2 separate regions of the Homo sapiens genome follow, and region 2 is linked to region 1. The links are contacts of gene promoters, found by promoter capture Hi-C in human tissues and cell types (Jung and others, 2019). All regions are on one chromosome and are shown on one strand. The core of a region is centred on a gene start or on the middle of the fragment in contact, and the rest is flanking DNA. Distances in the headings are between cores, read along the strand shown.

The links. Contacts are between HindIII fragments. The study calls those that stand out against the background at their distance.
Region 2: a fragment that was not itself captured here is called in contact with the fragment with the promoter of OTOG in region 1 in 4 of the 25 tissues and cell types used here (bladder, mesendoderm cells, ovary and 1 more).

The regions. Positions count from the first base shown.
Region 1 is chr11:17,545,072-17,549,275 of GRCh38, reverse strand. It overlaps OTOG (otogelin), which reads right to left and starts at 2,017. Exons shown (of 56, transcript NM_001292063.2): 1 at 1,810-2,017; 2 at 1,289-1,349; 3 at 1,064-1,124. The coding sequence starts at 1,903. The HindIII fragment of the contact is 5,491 bases long and covers 1-4,204 here.
Region 2 is chr11:17,399,463-17,403,940 of GRCh38, reverse strand. ABCC8 (ATP binding cassette subfamily C member 8) reads left to right here. Exons shown (of 39, transcript NM_000352.6): 29 at 1,188-1,280. Among named protein-coding and RNA genes, the nearest start is that of KCNJ11, 13 kb to the right of the region's middle. The HindIII fragment of the contact is 5,275 bases long and covers 1-4,078 here.

The DNA of each region.
Region 1 (4,204 bases), core at 768-3,267:
GGGGCTGGGGCAGGGGCACTTGAGCTGAGGCTCAGCTGCTTTGGGGGACCTAGCTGCAGGTGGGTGGAACTTATAGCTCATCTGTAGTTATAGAAAGAGGGAGACAAATGCGGGCCAGGATTAGAAAGTAGACCTGAGTCACCTGATCCAGAGACCAAAGAAGTTTGGCAAAGGGAGAAAACAAAACTGCCACCTCTCCCACAAACACAGAGGACCGTGGGAAGATGGGCAGTGGAATGGTCAAGACTCAAAGGATAGAGGCCGGGCTCAGTGGCTCATGCCTAATCCCAGCACTTTGGGAGGCTGACACAGAAGGATCACTTGAGGCCAGGAGTTCAAGACCAGCCTGGGCAACATAGTGAGACTCTGTCTCTACCAAAAAAATTGAAATTCAACCAGGCATGGTGGCACACACCTATAGTCCTAGCTACTCAGGTAACGGAGGCACCAGGATCACTTGAGCCCAGGAAGTTGAGGCTGCAGTGAACTATGATTATGCGACTGCACTCCAGCCTGTGTCACAGAGCAAGACCCCGACTCAAAAAAAGAAAAAAAAAGGCTCAAAGGATGAGTTCAGGGCTCTGCTTCTCAACCAAACCTTCCTTGCAACTTCCACCAGGTGGCCTAGTTTTTGTCTTGCCTGCATTCTTGAGGCTCCGCTCAGGGTATGGAGAGGAGCCTCTGACAGGGTTGAGGGCCTTCGCAGGCCAGTCAGGGAAAAGAGAACTCCATTCTTCTAAACGTCCATCTTTCTACTTTTACCTGCCAGAAGGGAGAGCTCAGCTCTCTCCTGAAAGAGCCCTGGTGCCCACCTCTCCTAAAAAAAAAAAAAAAAAAAAAAAAAAAAAAAAAAAAAAGAGTGGACTATAGACCCCCAAGAGATTAAAAAGAATAGAAGGGTTTTATGAACTTGCACACCTCAGACACATACCAGGAATCTGCTTGTTCCTTTCTGAACAACTCCAGAGACCCCTCCTGTAACCTACAGAGCTCCCTGCCAGCCTCAGATCCAGATAGACATGAGCTCCTGCTCAATGAAGCCCCCTCCCAAGACCTCCCTTACCTGGCCTCCCACGACTGTAGCCTTGTCCCCCATGGCAAGGGTCGCCTCCTGGTGGCTGCTGCTGGAGGAAACACGAGTCTGGCATGGATGGGGGGCTAGGATGGGTTATGCCTCCCCGCAGTCCCCTGGCCTATCCCACCCTAAGTGCTAAAGCCCTGGGGTCGCTGATGCCAGAAATACGGATGGGAGCTGTGGGTGGGGCCGCCACAGCTCACACCTACTCACCTGGGTTGCCCGGCTGGCTCTGGCTGTGGCTCTGCACTGCCCCACAGAACGGGTGCTGCGGCTGGGGAGGGGGATTATTCTCCACTCAAATTGTGCTTGTCTTTACTGGGGCCTCCCACCACCTGGCCCCCACTGCTAGAAAGCCTCTCCCACGCCACTGAGCATTCCCCCATTCTCCCTCCCTGCAGCCTTCTCAAATCCTTTCTCTCCCTTCCTGATGACCCTTCTCCAGCCAGGATCTCCCTGTTTACTCTCAGTCTTTGGCCCCCAGCTCTCTCTAGTTCCCCACCTCGGGTCTCTTCCACCCAGCCTAACTTTGGACTCTTTCCCCCGCGGTCATAGGCCTGCCTCTGTTGGCTTCGGGGTCCCTCCTCCCCTGACTGCTCCTCCTGGGTGTCCCTCTGCTCTCCCTCAAACCTCTCTTTCCTCCCTCTCTCCAACCTGCGCGGGCCCATTCCTCATTCCTTTAACGTTTCTCATTCCTCGAGCCCCCGACCTCCCTGAGTCCACAACCCTCTCACCGAGGCGCTGCACCCGCAGGGACTCGGCTGCCTGCTCACCCCAGGGCAGCCAGACACAAAGCAGCCAGCAGAGCGCAGACGCCAGGACTCCCATAGGGACACGAGGGGACCGGAGGACTTGAGCGCAGGGCCAGCCTCCCGAGGTGCCTCCCCGGGCTAAGGCAGGGTCACACCTCCACTCCGCAGCCGAGGTCCCTCTTGTTCTCATGCCCCAGGGCTCCCTCAGCCCCTCCTCCCAGGCTCTCAGCTCCTCCCCGAACTAGAGTGACAGGAGTACCCAGCTTATTACCATAATTTAGGCGCCTGTCCATAGCCTAGCCTCTGCTTTTCTTGGCCTGTGGCCACACCTCCCCAGGGGAGGCTGGATTCAGATTACTCAGCCCTAAATTGTCTAGGGAAGCATAGAGGCAGCCTATGCAACCTCCAGCTCCCCTTACCTGGGTCCTGGAAGCCCAATACCAGAGACGCAAGATGCAGGTATGAGTCTGGCCCTATCCTCTCCTTTTACAGAGGGCCATGCTGAGGCCCTGGGACATGCCACTCAGGGATCAGTGGTCAATAACAGAGCCTGCAGAGTCCTAGCCTATGTTCTCACCATGCCCCACCTCAGCTTCCACCTGGGTCTCCACATCCGTATCCTATGACCAGTTTTGAGCACCTCTAGGGAATGGATCATGCCTTAGTCCTCTGAATGCCCAGCACCAGCTCCTGCCCGAGCTCAGGAAATGACGATTGAATAATAAAAGTGTTTCATACTCCTATGTTATTGCCACCATCAAGGCCAAACTTTGACAAAACAACTTTATATGTGTGAACGAGGTCCACTGTCTGCCCAGGAGGAATTTTAAAATGGCAAAAACATGGGACTGAGCACCTGGGGAATCTGTACATCATTCACTTCGTCATCACTTAGGGAACACCAACTAGATGCTAGGTCTTACAGAGGATGATGATGATGGTGGTGGTGGTGGTCGTGGTGGTATTGGCCCCAGTAGACTTCTAGGCAAGGGTATAGATTTGAGATGCATTCATTCATTCATTCATTCATTCATTCACTCAACAAATTTGTTTGGCATTGATTCCATGCCATGCACTGTTCTAGGCATATAGTGGTAAATAAAGCAAACACAGCTATCTTCACACAGGAGGAAGCTGGGGGCACAGATAGGAAGATGAAGAGGAAAGAGCTAAGGATGGAGCCTTAAGGAATGCTGGTTAAGGAACAGGCAAAGACTGATTGTCTCCAAGGAAGCTTGAAACAAAAATTCATGAGAGAGGAGAACCAGGTCTCAATGCTATTCTCAAAACAAAGCAGGGGGCATTTTAAGGTGGAGGGAGTCTGTGGGGGTAATGGCCAATGTAAAATAAGGATTGGTGTGGCAGGTGAACAGCATTCCCCTGGATAAGGACATTCATTCACCTCTGCCAGGATTCTAAATACAAAATAAACAGCCATATGACATTCTTTTCCAATGTAGAGAATCAATGAAGTAAGTCGGAGGGGAATGCATTTTGTGTGGCCTTTTCTGGACCATTCAAAAATCCCACAAGTCTTTCCATTTTATCGCTGACTTAATAGTTAATGCTAAGGTGAGAAAACAGATCATATTTTAAGGTTCTTCTCCAAGAGGGATTTACATCTTAAACTAGGCAACAAAAATAGTGTGCTTGTAAAACTTCAGCTATTGGGGAGAGGGACGCAGAGGGGTGTTTAGGTGCCCCAGAGTTACAATTGTAAGTGGTTACCTGATGTAAGCTGCTGTCCATCTCCTTGCCCCTGCCCTTGACAGGGCACAAAGGGCTCAGGTGCCTCCCTGGGTTAAGTTCAGGCACAAGCCCCATACTTAGCCTCTGATTTACACATTTTTATCACCCCTCTCCTAGCCCCTCTTTCCTTTCATCTCTTTCCAGGCCTGGTTCATCATTGTCTTTGATGAATCTTTCCTTTCATTCCTTTCCAGGCCTGGTTCATCATTGTCTTTGCACCAAGCACTAGACCTAGGAGTTAAGCAAATGCTGACCAAATTGAATTAAATGAACCAGAGGGTCTGGGCCCTGGGTGAAGGTCAGCCATAGATCAAAATGTCACTGCCAGGCTCTGCCAGGCTTCGATGGATATGTGAGTGTGTTGGGTTTGGGTTTTGTTTTGTCTTGTTTTGTTGGGGGTGGAGGTGTTAGGGAAGGTGGGAGGGGAAATCAGTTGAGGGGGGCACTCTCACACACACTGATTCAGACCCCTGCGGCCCACAGTAAAACCCAGCCCTGTCCCCAAGGAATTCACAGAACAAGGATTGATTTCTCCCTGGTGGAAAAGTGCAGGAGGAAGCCAGGACTGAAGGTACGCTGGAGGTGAGGGCGTAGCAAGGGCTGACAGTCCAGGAGGGCCATGAACCTC
Region 2 (4,478 bases), core at 192-2,691, 140 kb after region 1:
CCAGATTCATAGAAACTCATAGATTCAAAAAATTGTAGGAAAAAATTTAAAGAACGTCTAGGCCAGTGTTTCTCAAACTGCCAATTACAGCCCATCAGTGGGTCATGAAATCAATATCATGGATCACAACCAGCATTTTTTTAAAAATGAAAAAAACATCAGACTGTATTCATAGAGTAAAGCAAGCTTTGCTTCATGAAACCTTTGTGTTGGTCATGGAGGTGTGTGAGTACTGATTTGTGAGATAAAATATATTTCTGACTGCAGGTTGTGGTCAGAAAGGTTAAGTACCTTTCCCAAGTGCACATAGTTGGCTAGAAACTAGAGTTGAGATACTTATTAGCAATAATAAAATTTAGATGCATTTTGGACACAATTACCTGCCCCAAAGGATCAACATTTGTATAAATGGCTTTTTGCTTGGATGATCCAGAATGGCCCGACACCCACACGAACAACATAGCTTTTTGACACTCAAAAAATTCAAAGTGCTGCACAAGCTGTTCTACAAAGTTCATTTCTTCTGCCAGAGAAACAGCCCAGTCTCTGTGGCACCCAGTCTGACCCTGGAGATGGTTTATCAGGGAAATCAACTTCCTGCATCCCAAACTGGCCTCCCTGGCACTGATGTGCTTGTCGAGGTGCAGCTTTGGGGAGCAGGAGGCAATTCTGTTGCCATGGAAACCTCTGGCCTTACCCCGAGACGAAACCTATCATTTCAGCACATCACTGGCCAGGGTCTAAAGAGCTCCTTGATGGGGTAAGCGGAAGACGGGGTTGAACGCTTTGAGTTTGGTCTTCTGTTCCTTTGGCCAGCTGTCTCAAGGTTCAGATTGTTCACCTGTAAAATGGAACTAGCACTGCCTGCCCAGCCTTAGCTCAGCTCCAGGCTGTGCAGCAGAAGTACAGGGACAGATGGCGACCTGGGGTTGACAATGCCCAGGACAGCAGTAATTGTGCCCCACATCAGGCTGTGTCTAAGCATTGTACATAAACGATCTCATTCAGTGCTCACAAAAGCTCAATGGGCTGGTGGCATTGTCTTCCCCCTTCACGGGGTAAGAAGCTGAGGCCTAGAGAGGTAAGGCCATTCACCCACACAGCGGTAGCAGGTGGAGCTAGGCTTCAGGCCCAGGCCGAGCCCTGAGCCTGCCCTCTTAACTGTTCCACTCTGTTCCCCGCCACAGGGACCTGCAGCAGCTGGATGACACCACCCAGCTTCCACTTCTCTCACACTTTGCCGAAACCGTAGAAGGACTCACCACCATCCGGGCCTTCAGGTACGAGTCCACATTCCCCCAAGGTAGGAGTGGAACAGGGGTGGGGCCAGGGGGCACAGGCCATGAGATTTGATTCTCAGGACTCCACTTGGGAAGGCCAAGGACACGTTCTCTCTCAAGCTGCCTCAGGTCCCAAGGCCCAAGGGATATCCACCAGCAGGGACAGGCCAGGTGGGCTCCCACTGAATGTTCTAGAGAGGAAAATTCCAGCTCTGTAGACAAGCCCAGGACCTCTGTGAGGCAGAGCATGAAAAGAGACAAAGCTGGGACAAGTCTTCATGTATCAACGCTAGAAAGGGCCTTAGGTGCGGGCCACCCTAAGCCCTTCTTTTATTAAGGAGCCCCTGTGTGCCAAACACTATGCTGAGTACTGTACAGGCCAATCCCACTCATTCTGCACTGCAACCCTCGGTGCTGAGAATGGTCATTTCCATTGCACAGACAAGGAAACTGAGGCACAGAGACGTTCTATAACCTCTCTGTGTAAGGTGCCACAAAGCCCAGACTTGAACCTATTTGTTCATGCAACAAACATTTACTAAGCCCCGACTATGTGCTAAGCCCCATGCCAGGCACTAAAAAGATGAGTCAAATAAGCCGCTGCCCTGCAGGCGTTTACAGCCCAGACTTTGAGCAGGCCAGGATAAATCCACGTGACAAGTATTCTGAAAAAAGCGGATTCAAGGGCTGTGGGAGCATAGAAGAGAGACAGTCCGGGAAGGTTTTTGTACCAGAGGTGTCATCAGAACTAGGACTCAAAGGAGGGGCAGGAGTTCACCAGGCTGAGGAATTCCTGAAAACTTCAGTGCCCCTGCCATCGTCTCACTACCCTGAGTGGTGATGTTGGGGTGGACAGGAGCATCTGAGGTTGCCTGGGGAATGAGGGAAGCTGTTGTTTCCCACTCCCCAAGAGTCTGTCTGATCTCCAGAGGCATCTCTCTTCCAGTCAGGCAGGCCAGAGACCCCTGACACACAAAGTTGGGCTCTTTTCTCATCTTCATCCAGAGAGTGATAATAGGTTATTTTTAGGGTGGCACAGCTGCACGAAGTATGACAGTAACCATGAGACACCAAGCACTGTGTCCAGGAGTAACCATAGGGCACAAGGACCAGCCAAGGGCCAGAGAGGCTTACATCTCCTCCCCCCAACCCCTGAAGTCCAGCTTCAGCCCTGGAGAGGTATCCAGGCCCCTCTGCCCACCCTGGAGCACCTAGGGCCAGTGGAAATCCACCTCTTAGGGATCTTGTCTAAGTAAAGAAGAGCAGAGCAAAGCTCTGCCCTGGCCTTGGCGCTGCTCCCTGGACATCCCTTGCCCCTGGACAAGCCTATGCTGTGTCTTCCACAAAGAAGCTTGCTGGGGACTGGATTATGACTCTAGAGTCTCCTCCCAGCCTCCTCTTCTCAAGCCTGAACTTCTCCCGTTCCTTCAACTTCCAGGTCCCTCGACATTACTGAGCCTAGCCTTTGCTCTAAGTTTTGGTGATTTCCCTCTCTCAATTGGTGTCTCAGAGGGCCCTGGGGTAGAGAGATGGTGACTCTTCTAGAGTGGGCCACAGCCCCTTGTGTGCAGATCCCAGCTTCCTGTAAACAGCCTCAGATCAGGCCAAACCTGTGGTCAGCCAGAGCCACTGCTACCCAGTGAGGTCTTCCACACCCTACTGACACGGTGAATGATTTTTAAATTTGAATGAAAGGCTTTTTAATCAACCCCATACACATTTAATGCATTGGCTTTAATCCAGCAGCCTGTTGAGAGCTATTAGCACTTATTGATTGCCCACTTACTGTATGCCAGGCACCGTGCTAAGTGTTGTATGTGCATTATTACATTTAATCCTCACAAGGACCACATAACATAGGTACGAATCGCCACATTCTCCAGATGCAGAAGCGAGACCCAGAGAGGCTGGGTAATCAATCCAAGGTCACACAGACTGCGGGGGCTGGCGCTGAGCTTGGAACCCAGGTTTGCCTGACCTTCTGGGCTTTCCTAAGAGATCTTATTTTTTCCCAAAAGAGTTTCAAGAGTGCCCAGCACTGGGCTCAGTGGCGGGCTCGGAGGTTGTTTTCGTTCATGTAGGAACTATCACTTCCCCATTTTTTTCATAAGAAAACTGAGTCTCAGTCCTGATACACAGCCAGGAAGTTGTGATGTTCAGGCTCCAACCTGGGTTTACATGGCTCCGAGGCTGGGGCTCTTTTCTAGTCCTCAGACACACTGTCGCACGCCTGTGGCAGAAGCTCCCATCTCACACTTGCCGACCCTCAACTCACACAGTCCTGAGACCCACATACGCTGAGCGCCTCACACTCCTATAACACGCACATGCCCTGATGCACACACATTTTCAACACGCACTTACTCTACCCTTCAGGCATGGTTTCACACTCACTGCAGACACGTCACCCTCCCACACGTCTCCACCCTGGGGGTGTGCAGTAGCATGCTCTCTCCCACCTCAGAACCTCCCTTCAGTCCCCTCAGACACATGCCCTCTCTCCACGCAGAGACAATCAAAGCTGAACTAACACCTTCCAGGGTGAAAAGCAAATGCCCAGTAAGGTACGTCTTGGGTGCCTCCGTGTCCCCTGAGTTTGGTCCTATCAAACCAGCGATGATGAGGCAGCTTTTCTTTCGTTCCTTCCTCCATCATCAAACAAGTGCTCCTGCATCTCCTCTGGGCCGGGCCTACGTCAGCAAGGTCTGAGGGAAGCGGCCAAGGAGAGTGATGACGGCAGCCCAGGTTGATCAGAGAAAGGAGGCAGGTCCATGCGCAGTAACTCAGGGAAAACATGATGAGGACCTAAGGATGAGAAAGAAGCCTCCAGAGTTCCCTGTGCAGAGAGATTCCATCAATTTCAGAGGGTCAGGGGAGTGCCATGCATTCATCCAACAAATATTTATTGATAGTGCCAGGTGCTGGGGTATATTGGTGAATAAAACATCTTCATGGAATTTGCAGTCTATTGAGGGAGATGATTATAAATAGCTAGAGAAATGCATGTACAGCAGATACTGTGGAGCAAACAGGTTGCAGACAATAATAGGGGAAACCTACTTTATAGTAAGGTAGTAGCCAGGAAGAGCCTCTCTGAGGAGGCAGCATTTAAGGCAAGCCCTGAAGGTTGAGTTGAGCCAGCCTTATGAAGAGCAAGGGCAAAAGCCTTCCAGGAAAAGGGAATAGTGTGTGCAAAGG